Regions from separate parts of the Homo sapiens genome. Here region 2 is linked to region 1. The links are contacts of gene promoters, found by promoter capture Hi-C in human tissues and cell types (Jung and others, 2019). All regions are on one chromosome and are shown on one strand. Each heading gives the region's core, a stretch centred on a gene start or on the middle of the fragment in contact. The rest is flanking DNA. Distances are from core to core; before and after follow the strand shown.

What was found. Contacts are between HindIII fragments. The study calls those that stand out against the background at their distance.
Region 2: a fragment that was not itself captured here is called in contact with the fragment with the promoter of EIF4EBP1 in region 1 in 1 of the 25 tissues and cell types used here (lymphoblastoid cells).

Annotation. Positions count from the first base shown.
Region 1 is chr8:38,026,407-38,032,747 of GRCh38, reverse strand. It overlaps EIF4EBP1 (eukaryotic translation initiation factor 4E binding protein 1), which reads right to left and starts at 2,214. Exons shown (of 3, transcript NM_004095.4): 1 at 2,030-2,214. The coding sequence starts at 2,174. RefSeq lists enhancers at 1,394-1,493, 2,123-2,417 and a silencer at 1,994-2,433. The HindIII fragment of the contact is 9,944 bases long and covers 1-5,917 here.
Region 2 is chr8:38,714,238-38,720,232 of GRCh38, reverse strand. No RefSeq gene overlaps it. Among named protein-coding and RNA genes, the nearest start is that of TACC1, 70 kb to the left of the region's middle. RefSeq lists an enhancer at 79-600 and a silencer at 5,773-5,832. The HindIII fragment of the contact is 4,887 bases long and covers 320-5,206 here.

The sequences.
Region 1 (6,341 bases), core at 965-3,464:
GCTCCACTGGACGACCAAACAGTGAGCTGGCTTTAGGCTCCTGGCACTGCTAGCTTCTTCCAGTGATCTCAGAAACATATGCTATGCCCTGATGCAGAAGTCCCTTCCCCACTCCCCCTACTGCTAAAGACCTTCAAAGGGAAGGGGATTTGCTGTGGTCTGTCAGCCCCCTGCCCACTCCCCACTTCCCAACCCAAAGTGAAAAGTGGATTTGAAGTTCCTATATTTTATATTTATTATTTATTTTAGAGATAGGGTCTCGCTCTGTCACCCAGGCTGGAGTGCAGTGGTCAATCATAGCTCACTACAGCCTCCAACTCCTGGGCTCAAGCGATCCTCTGGCCTCAGCCTCTGTAGTAGCTAGGACAACATTTTGTTGTTGTTTTGTTTGTTTCTTTGTAGAGATGGAGTCTCACTATGTTGCCCAGGCTGGTCTTGAACTCCTGGCCTCAAGCAATTCTCCTGCCTTGGCTCCCCAAAATGCTGGCATTACAGGTGTGAACCTTGGTACCCGGGCCAGAAGTGCCTATAAACAGTATCCTGGCTTCCAATTTGACCCAACAATCCAGCAATAAAGAGTGCAAAAAAGGGCTACCTGCGCCTTCAGGCCGGCCTCAGGGCCCACCCTGAACAAATCCAGCAGACACTTACACCCTCATTTGAAAGAACTCCAAAATTGTCAGGAATTGTCCTGGTAGACCATTGTGACAGAGACAAAGGAGAACAGCATGGACTACAAAAGACCCAGCAAGGGAAAGAGGATGAGTCGGGAATGGCAACAAGAGCCCCTGCGAGCTTTTCCTTGGCTCATTTCTAATAGAAAAGGAAGCATTTCTCCCTTCTCTGCCTGGTTGCTATTTCTTGTCCAATCTGGGAAAACGGTGTGACAATGGGCAACAGACACGTGTTCAAGCTCTGGGGCCTCAATGCCGGGCTCTGTAGAATAAGACGGCAGGGCTGGACAAGATCCCTAACCGTTCTAACAGTGTATGTTTTGGATCAAACAGCAGAGGACCTCGGATCTGGCCGCGCTCGCTGCTGGTGGGACAGCTGCCTGAGAAAATAAGCATGTGGCCCCCGCCCGCCACCTAGCCAAGCGCCAGGATCTGTCGCGTTTTCTAGTAGTATGGAAAGCAGCGTGGAGGAGAATGAAGGGAGAGGAGCAAAAAGGGGTGGGGGCAGTGCGACAATGAGAGGGGAGGAGAGAGCCACGAGGATTTATTTCATCATGCAAACAGGCGCGTAGGTTTCATCAGCGTCTGTGCGCTGGGGCTCCGGGGCTGGGAGGGAATGCCAGGTTCCTGAGGGCAGCCCGAGGCTGGCCCCCCCACCCGTGCCAGCTCAGCTTCCTCTTCCTCATCCTCTCCCAGGGAGGTCACACGGTGCCTCCTCCTCTCCCCGGACAGAAGAACGTGTTTTTCTGCACAGCCCTGGCCGTGGCGCCAGGGTCCCCCCCGCGGAGATCCCACTCGCGTAAATGGGGAACGTGCCACAGGTGCCCGGGAGGCGCTGCTGGAGCAGGCAAGCACCCCCAGATCCGAACCTCAGTCAGAGCGCGCGAGTCCAACACAAAACTCGGCGTGCTTCGGGAAGGAAAAAGGGCCCTGCAGGAATCGTTTATCCCAACAGATAATACCCATCCCATAAAAACACCAGGCCAGGCCTCTCCTGGATCGTGGGCCACCCTAACTCCGCCCTCTCCCGCTTCGGGAGCGCCCCCAACACCCACAAGGGGCAGCACAGCTCGGCATGTGGCTGTCCTGGAGGCGTGCGTGTTTGTTAGGTGTCAGCTGTCTGACACCTAACAGAAAGAGGAAACAAACGGGGCAGTTTGTAACTCGGGTCTGGAAGACGCACTCAGAGGGGAAGCGGGCGGCCACTTCCATGACCCTCGCTGTCTCTCCGATGCCCCTTTTCCGTTCTTTCCAATCACGGCGCCCTTGAGCCTGGACACCCGGTCCAATCCGCGATTCCCGATCCTCCCGCCCGCCCAGGAGCCGGCAAGCGGCGTCGCCAAGCCCGCGCCTACCTCCCGGGGTGGTGCTGAAGAGCGTGCCGCCGGGGGTCGTGCTGTAGTCCCCGGGCGGGAGCTGCACGCCGTCGCCGAGCACCACCCGGCGAGTGGCGGGGATGGCCCGGCTTGGGGTCTGGCTGCAGCTGCTGCCCCCGGACATGGTCTCCTGTGCGCTGCACCCGCGAACCTCTCGCTGCCCTCCCGCGCCTCCAGCCTCGCTCCGCCTCGCCCCGTGCCGCCCCGCCCCAGGACGCCCCTTCCGCCTCTCCCGCCCCACGCCCCTGGGATTTGTAGTCCGCGCCGCAGCCCCACCCAGCTCCAGGACGCTGCTTCCACGTGGGATCCCCCGCCGCCCCCCGACCCACTCCCGTCTGCTCACGGGCTCTTCCGCACGGGCGCTGGCGCCGCCCCGCAGCGACTGCCCCTCCGTCCGGGGTCCCTCCCCGCCACGCTGGCAGGGACGGATATGGGGATGGCGGGCGGGATAGCTCGCCTAAATTAATCCTTGGCTGGGTTGGGGGCGGCGACTCAGGACCGCGCGGAGATCCGAGCTGACCCGGCCCACTGCAGGAAGGCCCGGTTTCTGCATTAGGACATCAGGCCTGGTGTACCCTTCGGCACTCCCTGTTTCGTGCCTTAGTTCCTCAGATGAGAAAATGGGGATTGAGTAGTTATGCTCACCGCCCCCCGCCCCGCTTCAATTTCTTGACCTTGATGGGGGTGGGGGTGGAGGGGCTAACAATTCCGTTCCCGGCCTTTAGAGAGGGTGTGGGAGGAGGAGTGAACCAACCAGCGGCGTCCTGGGAGCTAAATTTAGAGCTGGGGGCGCAGAGGTGGGTGGTGGGGAAGGGCGTTGGAGAGGAGTAAGAGTGTCGAAGAGGTTTCCCGATAGCCCCTGAATTGAGTCCAACGTCCACCTGAGGTTTAGTAGGTACTCCTTGGATGGATGGATGGATGGATGGATGGATGGATGGATGGATGGATGTTCAAGGGGAGAGAGAAAAATGCAAGAAGGACCGAGGATGGAAAAGCTTGTTGGGTTTGAGAAGTTCTTAGCATTATGGGCACATATTGTGGGGAAGAGGGTGAAGAGGGGAGGGCAGTTTAAAAGGGAAATTGGGTGGTGCACCTGTAATCCCAGCTACTCAGGAAGCTGAGGCTGGAGGATGCTTGAGCCCAGGGGTTTGAGGCTCCAGTGAGCTGTGATCACACCACTGCACTCCACCCTTTGTGACAGAGACCCTATCTCTAAAAAAATATATAATAATTTTTTAAAAAGGAAATTGGGGTCAGGTCGTTGAGTTTTTCAAATTATGCCAAAGTGCTTGGACTTTGTCTTAGAAGGGCAGGAGATATCAGAGATCTTTTAAGCAGGGGGATGACATGATTTGAGTTGTTTTTTGGAAGGATAACTAGTAGCCAGTGGAGTTTCAGAATGGGCCAAGGAGGGCAAGGCCTGAGATAGGGAGACCTGTTGAGTTTGGTCTCACTTTTGAGGGAAACTTTAGGCCTACAGTGGCTAAGACAGTAGCCACCAGCTACAGGTGCACATTGAGCACTCCAAATGTGACCAGTCCAAACTGTCACAAGTTTAACATACACACCATATTTCAAAGACTTAGTGTGAAGAAAATCATGTAAAATACCTGAATAATTTGTTTCTATATTGATTGTATGTTGAACTGATAATATTTTGAGTATACTGGGTTAAGAAAAATACATTATAAAAATTAATTTTGGGCCAGGCGCAGTGGCTCACGCCTGTAATCCCAACACGTTGGGAGGCCGAGGCAGGCGGATCATGAGGTCAAGAGATCGAGACCATCCTGGACAACATGGTGAAACCCTGTCTCTACTAAAAATATAAAAAAAATTAGCTGGGCATGGTGGCGCATGCCTGTAGTCCCAGCTACTCGGGAGGCTGAGGCAGGAGAATTGCTTGAACCTGGGAGGCAGAGGTTGCAGTGAGCTGAAATCATGCCACTGCACTCCAGCCTGGCGTCAGAGCAAGACTCTGTCTCAAAAGAAAAAAAAATAAATTTCGGCTGGGTGCAGTGGCTCACGCCTGTAATCCCACCACTTTGGGAGGCCTAGGCGGGTGGATCATGAGGTCAGGAGTTCAAGACCAGCCTGGCCAAGATGGTGAAACCCTGTCTCTACTAAAAATACAAAAAAACAAAACAAACAAACAAACAAACAAAAACAACAGACCGGGCACAGTGGCGGGTGCCTGTAATCCCAGCTACTCGGGAGGCTGAGGTGGAGAATTGCTTGAACCTGGGAGGCAGAGGTTGTAGTGAGTAGAGATCTGCCACTGCACTCCAGCCTGGGTGACAGAGTGAGACTCCGTCTCAAAAAAAAAAAAAAAAAAAAATTAATTTCATCCAGGTGCTGTGGATCACACCTGTAATACCAGCACATTTGGAGACCGAGGTGAGCAGACTGCTTGGGCTCAGGAGTTTGAGACAAGCCTGGGCAACATGGTGAAACTCTGTCTCTACAAAAAAATTTAAAAATTAGCCCAGTGTTGTGGCTCACACCTGTGGTCCCAGCTACTTTCAAGGATGAGGTAGGAAGATGACCTGAGCCCCAGAGGTGGAGGTTGCCATGAGCCAAGATTGCACCACTGCACTCCAGCCAGGGCTCAAAAAATAAATAAATAATATAAGATAAAAATAGACCAGGCCTTGCTGGTTGCAGCGATGTGCACTTGTAATCCCAGCCCTAGCTGGGATTACAAGGCCAGAGGATTGCTTGAGGCCGGGAGTTCAGAGACCAGCCTGGGCAACATAGTAAGACCTTGTTTCAAAAAAGAGAGAGTTTCAGGCCGGGTGTGGTGGCTCACGCCTGTAATCCCAACACTTTGGTAGGCCGAGGGGGGCAGATCACGAGGTCAGGAGATTGAGACCATCCTGGCTAACACGGTGAAACCCCATCTCTACTAAAAATACGAAAAAAAAAAATTACCCGGGCATGATGGCAGACGCCTGTAGTCCCAGCTACTCGGGAGGCTAAGGCAGGATAATCGCTTCAAACTGGGAGGCAGAAGTTGCAGTGGGCTGAGATCGTGCCACTGCACCCATCCTGGGTGACAGAGCGAGACTCCATCTCAAAAAAAAAAAGAGTTTCACTCTGTTGCCTGGGCTGGAGTGCAGTGGCTAATTATAGGCACAATCATAACTCAGTGCAGCTTCCAACTCCTGGGCTCAAGCCATCCTCCCACCTCAGCCTCCCCAGTGGCTGGGATTACAGGTGCATGCCACTGCACTTGGCTAATTAAAGAAAAGAATTTTTTGGCCGGGCGAGGTGGCTCATGCCTGTAATCCCAGCACTTTGGGAGGCCGAGGCAGACAGATCACCTGAGGTCAGGAGACCACCTGGCCAACATGGTGAAACCCTGTCTCTACTAAAAATACAAAAATTAGCCAGGCGTGGTGGTGTGTGCCTGTAATCCCAGCTACTCAGGAGGCTGAGACAGGAGAATCACTTGAACCCAGGAGGCATAGGTTGCAGTGAGCCAAGATCCTGCCACTACACTTTAGCCTGGGCAACAGCAAGACTCCATCTCAAAAAAAAAAAAATTTTTGTAGAAATGAGATCTTGCTATGTTACCTAGGTTGGTCTCAAACTCCTGGCCTCAAGTGATCCTCCCTCCTCAGCCTCTTAAAGTTTTGGGATTACAGGCATGAGCCACTGTGACTGGCCCCTCTACCTTTTTCTAGAGCAGGAACTCATTCATATGGAAAAAACAGCTTTTATCTGAGGAATGGGAATCCTTTTAAATTATCAGGCCTAGACATTAAAATGAGACAGCAATCACGTCCCACTACCCCCTTTTGAGCTATGTATTCATCTCTTGAAACTGCTTGCTATTGTCACAAGTAGCCATAAATTAACCTATTAATAATAATGCTGCACTAAAGACTATATAGGGTGTGGACACTATAACTTAACAGTGTATAGCCAAGGCTGGGTGCAGTGGCTTACTCCTATGATTTCCACACTTTGGCAAGCCAAGGTGAGAGGATGGCTTGAGGCCAGGAGTTTGAGACCAGCCTGGGCAACAGAGAGACCCTCCCCCTTCATCTCTACAAAAAAATTTTTAAAATGTGGCCGGGAGTTGTAGCTCACGCCTATAATCCTAGCACTTTGCGAGGCCGAGGCAGGCGGATCACCTGAGGTCAGGAGTTTGAGACCAGTCTGGCTAACATGGTGAAACCCCGTCTCTACTAAAAATGCAAAAAGTAGCCAGGTGTGGTGGTATGCGCCTGTAGTCCCAGCTACTAGGGAAGCTGAGACAGGAGAATCGCTTGAACCTGGGTGGCAG
Region 2 (5,995 bases), core at 1,514-4,013, 690 kb before region 1:
CGGGCACCGGGGCTGCAGGTGGAGCTGCCTGCCAGTCCCACGCCGTGCGCCTGCACTCCTCAGCCCTTGGGTGGTCGGTGGGACTGGGCGCCGTGGAGCAGGGGGCGGCGCTCGTCGGGGAGGCTAGGGCCGCAAAGGAGCCCACAGAGGCGGGGGAGGCTCAGGCATGGCGGGCTGCAGGTCCCGAGCCCTGCCCCGCGGGAAGGCAGCTAAGGCCCGGCGAGAAATTGAGCCCAGCAGCTGCTGGCCCAGGTGCTAAGCCCCTCACTGCCCGGGGCCGGTGGGGCCCGCCAAGCCCATGCCCACCCGGAACTCGCGCTGGCCCGGAAGCACCGCGCGCAGCCCCGGTTCCCGCCCGCGCCTCTCCCTCCACACCTCCCCGCAAGCTGAGGGAGCCGGCTCCGGCCTTGGCCAGCCCAGAAAGGGGCTCCCACAGTGCAGTGGCAGGCTGAAGGGCTCCTCAAGTGCGGCCAAAGTGGGAGCCCAGGCAGAGGAGGCGCCGAGAGCGAGCGAGGGCTGTGAGGACTGCCAGCACGCTGTCACCTCTCATTACCTTCCTAAAACCTGAGAAAATCCAGAATCCCGAAGTACACCCGGCTCTAGGGTAAGAGATTGTAAATCTGAACTACTGACTGTAAAGGGAGGGAGGAGGGAGGAAAGAAGGGAGGGAGGAGGGACGAAGGTACTTTAGTGAAATTGATCTTATCTTGTTTCTCCCCTAGCCATTATCAATAACACACATACTTCTACAAAAGGAGGACTTCCATTCCAAATACAAGATATTATGTACTTTTTCATTTCTCTCTTTAGGGTTCCCTCCACCATCCATTCGGTTGCACACACCGGAAGGGCGTAAAGGGTTTTATAAGGATGAAGGGAGACACCTTGCCTGAAGCACCTGGGCGGCCCCAAGGACTCTTCTTCCTCCTACCCAAGCCAATCAGACTTGGAGTCCTGGCAAATCAGAGAAATCCCGGGGGAAAAACAAAGAATCTCTGTTGATACACTCACATCATTCATTCATTTGATACATACATATTAAGCACCTACTTAATATGTGCCAGATACTCTGTGATTAATAAGCTTATTGTCTCCTGCTGACCCTGTGCCATCCCCGGGTAGACTCGGGGATTGTCTTGGGCTCTGCAAATTACTCAGCACTTTGGGAGGCCAAGAGGAGAGGATCACTTGAGCTCAGGAGCTTGAGACCAGCCTGGACAACACGACGAGACCTTGTCTCTACAAAAAAATTTTAAAAATTAGCCAGGAGGATGGCTTGAGGCCGAAAGTTGCTGACCAGCCTGGGCAACGTAGTGAGACTCCTTTCTACAAAAAAAAAATTAAAAATTAGGTGGGTGTGGTGGCGGGTGCCTGTAGTCCCAGCTACTCAGAGGCTGAGGTAGGAGCATTGCTTGAGCCCAGGAGGTCAAGGCTGCACTAAGTCATGATTGCGGCACTGCACTCCAGCCTGGGATACAGACTGAGACCCTGTCTCAAAACAGAAGAAGAAGGAGAAGGAGGAGGAAGAGTAGGAGGAGGAGGCTACAGCAGGTGCTGCTAAAGGGAAGAGGAAAAACCCACTCGTAGACTCAGTCCATAGCTGTCTTTTCCACCATCCCTAAACTTTTAATCATATCCTTGATTTTCACTCTGAAGATTTCACCTGTTTAAAACTTCTGCCCTTGGGGAGACATGGCTGATGGAGGCAGAAGGTGGGACTTGAATGCAGCTCTCACCTGGGCATTTCTTGACTCTCTGGAGTAAATAGCATGAAGGCCTGGGAAATTCACCTGCTGCCAATTTGATGTCTGCTTTAGATGCACCACCAGTATAATGGAGATCACAACTCCTGGCCCCACCCACTTCACCATCCCTTTTATGGCTTTTCTCTTCCTGTCTCTCCATGCTCCAGGCAGATCCAAGTTCTTGCAGTTCTTCGAATGTGTCCAACTCTGCTGCCTTCTTTGCCTTTGCACATGCTGTTCCCTTGTCCTAGAACCGCTCCTTCTCTCCTGTTTAATTCCCGGTAGTCCTTCTGCAGAGCCCAGGGCTCAACGACTCCAGATGCCTTCCCTACCCTTCCTTTCTGTCAGTGCTGGGCCATCCTGTGGGATCCTATGCACACTTCCGTCATAGCACCACACACACTGCGTAGGGGTCATCAATGTCAGTGTCTCCACCCTGCCCACCACAAACAGGCAGTGGGAGCTCCTTGGGGGCACACCCTGTTCTTTACGTCTTCAGCATCACTGGGCTTGTCCACAAAGGAGGCACTCAATAAATGTTGGATGATTACATGAATGACGGTGGAGATCAATATTATTATATTTATGAAAGAGCTCTGAGCTCTTGGGAATATGACCATATTCTACATTGCAGAAAATGACATAAATCTGCAGCCGTTGCAAGAAGAAATCTGAGACTTATTTTAATGTCAGGTCCTCGCCCTGCACAACCTATTACTCATCCCTGGTGCAGAGGCTGTGTTTGTGGGAAGCACACCAGGCAGAAAGTCTCAAAGCCTGGGATCCGGCCCACGTCTGTCACCAGCCAGCTGTGTGATCATTGAGGGTCACATGTCAGAACCCTCACTTCCCTTATCAGGGCAACAAAGAATCAGAGCCGCTGAACAACTTCTTTCTTGTTCTGATATTCTGTTATTTTATTTTGAGCGCATTGAGCTATGAGTTCACAGAATGCACGATGACATCTAAGCAAACTTGCTAGTTTTAAAAATAGGCCATGTACGTGAATGTGCATTGAAGTGTGCACCAAGACAAGGATTGTGGACAACAATACTGTGGCCAGGGTGGTGGTCAATTGGCAGATTGTCCTGCAAACCCTCCTACCTTTGCAGTTTGATTCCTTTTTTGTCTTCAGAAAGTCCTCTCTTAAAATTCAAATTTTTCTGGGTCCCATTTCATTACCTTAAAATCCTAGGATTTCAAGCTAGAAAGGATTTAGCAAGTAATACTTCAGTTATCCCATCAAAACCTTGCAGGGATTGTTGACAGGCAACTGGGATGAGACAGGCTCTTAGTGGCACCTGGGTAATCAGCCCCAGTGACGCTGCAGGCTGTTGATAGGGAGAGAGGAAGATACTTAAGTGAAATTGATCCTACCTTGTTAGTTTCTCCTCTAGCCATTATCAGTAACACATGTACTTCTACAAAAGCAGGACTTGCGTTCCAAATACAAGGTATTCTGTACTTCCCCACTTCTCTCTCTAGGGTTCCCTCCACCATCCACTCAGTTGCACACACCAAAGACCTGGAAACCATTGTCTCCTTTCCCCGCCTCTCACACGCAGTCTGTCAGCAAATTCAATCCTCTCTTCCTTCAAATATGTCCCCTATCTGCCCGCATATCATCACCGCCACTGCTGAAACTCAGGTGAAAGTCATGTCATCATGTCAGAGCGAATGCAACAGCCCCCTCCCTTGTTCTCTTGCATCTACTCTTGTTCCCCTAAAGACCATTCTCTAGAGAGCAGACAGGACCATCATCTCCCGTTGAAAACCCTCCAATCAGTTTCCATTGCTAGTCCAGTGAGATCCAAACTCCTTACCACATTGGCACGGCCCCTGCCTACCTCTCAACCTCTGTCCAAGGCCCAGGCACTCTGGCCTTTCTGTCCCTCACACAAGCCAAGCATTTTGCTCTTTCAGGGCTTAGAACGTGTTATTACCTCTTTCTCCAGATCTTCATACACACCCCAACCTCTAACACTAGTGGGGTCCAGGAACAAGGGCCGGAATGGAAACCCATAAACCATATCTCCAAGTATTTAAAAGTTATAGATCACTCTAAAACCTATCACATAAAACATGTTCCAGCCTCTTAACATGTCAAATGCCTTCATAATGACAAAATTGAAAAATATGTGTAAACACATGGTTTTGATGACTGCAAGTTAGCAAAATACAAAAGAAAATTAAATTTATTACTGTGCATATTTAACTGTTCTGTTGATTGGTTGGTGATATTTGAATGAGTAATAAAAATAGAGACATATGTATTATCTATGACTTATATGTTTATTCCACAAAGTTTATTTTTTGTTTCATTTCGATGTAATCACTAATATAATCATTTTCAAATAATTGTGTTATATTGAGATGAATGATATAAAATATTTTTTAAAATGTTATTGTCCTCAAAGTGTAAAAAATTAAAATATATTATCATTAAAATATAACTGAAAGTAAATATTTGAAAATTAAAATAGTTTTCATATATCATTTCAAAAAAGTTATTTTTCTCAGGTATTCAACATTATTTATAATTAAACAAATATGTGTTCTAATTAGTGAATATGAAAAGTTTAAATTACAATTATTTAAATAAAGCTGAAAAATTCTTTTGGAAAATCTAGCTAAATTATATTAGATATTCTTACTTTTTAAAAAAATTCTCAGGCTGAGCATGGTGACTCACACCTGTAATCCTAGCACTTTGGGAAGCCGAGGCCGGAGGATCACTTGAGCCCAAAAGTTTGAGACCAGCCTGGGCAACATAGTGAGACTCTGTCTCCACAAAAAAATTAAAAAGTAACTAGGTGTGGTGGCGCATGCCTGTGGTCCCAGCTACTGGGGAGGCTGAGGCAGGAGGATTACTGGAGCCCAGGAGGTCAAGGCTGCAGTGAGTCATGATTGTGCCATTGCACTCCAGCATGGGCAACATAAGGAGACCCTGTCTCAAAACAAACAAAAGAGAAAACGTTTCTCAATTTTGGTGTTCAGTGCTGTCAAGGTAAATAATTGGTATGCTTTGAGCATCTTACATCTAAACCAACATACATACACATTTAAGAGAAATGCGAATTACTTGACATTGCAAATGTTCCTCATCCATCATGTGTAAACATCCTAAATACCTCTTTAATCCATGAGCATCTCCAGAACACAAAGAGAAGAAAAAGACAGATTCTCAGAACTCTGGGAAACAATTCTTCCTTATGCAATAATCTAGTGCTCTGATGCTGTTTTGAGAAAGGTTTGAACAAATTAGTTAATTTGTCCTTTCTCTCACCTAAGCACTTTCGCCACACAAATTCTCTCCAGCACCACCCACAACCTTGACAGCATTAGGACAAGGTGGTGGAGAAGCGTTTCCCTGGAGTCTGAACCGTGTTAAATAATCAGAGTGGTTGGGGTCCTCCAAATCCCCAGGCCCAGGACAGGGGCCCCTATTGCCCTGTTCCAAGGGTAGTTCCTTCTTTCATGCCTCCTGGGTACCTGCTTATAGAAAGGCCTTCTCTGGCCACCCTGAATAACTGATGTGGCATCCATACTGCACCACCCCAACCATTCTGTGTCCCCTTGTCCCATATGATCTTTTCATAGCAATTTACACCATCTAAAATCACACCTTTCTCTGCCCACCATGGACCTCGTCATGTGCATAAGCCCTCAATGCCTATTTGTTAATGATTGGACATCTCTGACCATCAGATTCCAGAGGTGCCTCAGCAATGGACATTTATTTGTGTGATGGTTTAATACACAGTGTCTCCTCATCCATGCTTTCGTGAGATTCCCATGACCTGTGAAGAACAAAGGGCACGCCTGGGGCTCAGAGAAGTTACGAGGTTTGCCACTGTGAGCAAATGGTAGAGCTAAAGCTAACCATACAATTAGGACTCTTTCCCCTAGACCCCTAGAGTGAAGAAGGAGCCTTGAGGGTTTATGGTGCAGCCTCAAAACACACACCCATGGTGAGCGGCCGCACACAATTCTGCCCCTAGAGGGCAGTGGCTGCACACACATGGACATCGGACGCATTTGGACCACTAGCTGGTTAGTGATGGGCGTCCATGTCTTCACCTAGTTTTTTGTTTTTGTTTGTTTTGTTTTGTTTTTTGAGATGGAATCTCGCTCTGTTGCCCAGGCTGGAGTGCCGTGGCACAATCTCAGCTCACTGCAACCTCCGCCTCCAGGGTTCAAGTGATTCTCCTGCCTCAGCCTCTCAAGTAGCTGGGACTACAGGTGTGTGC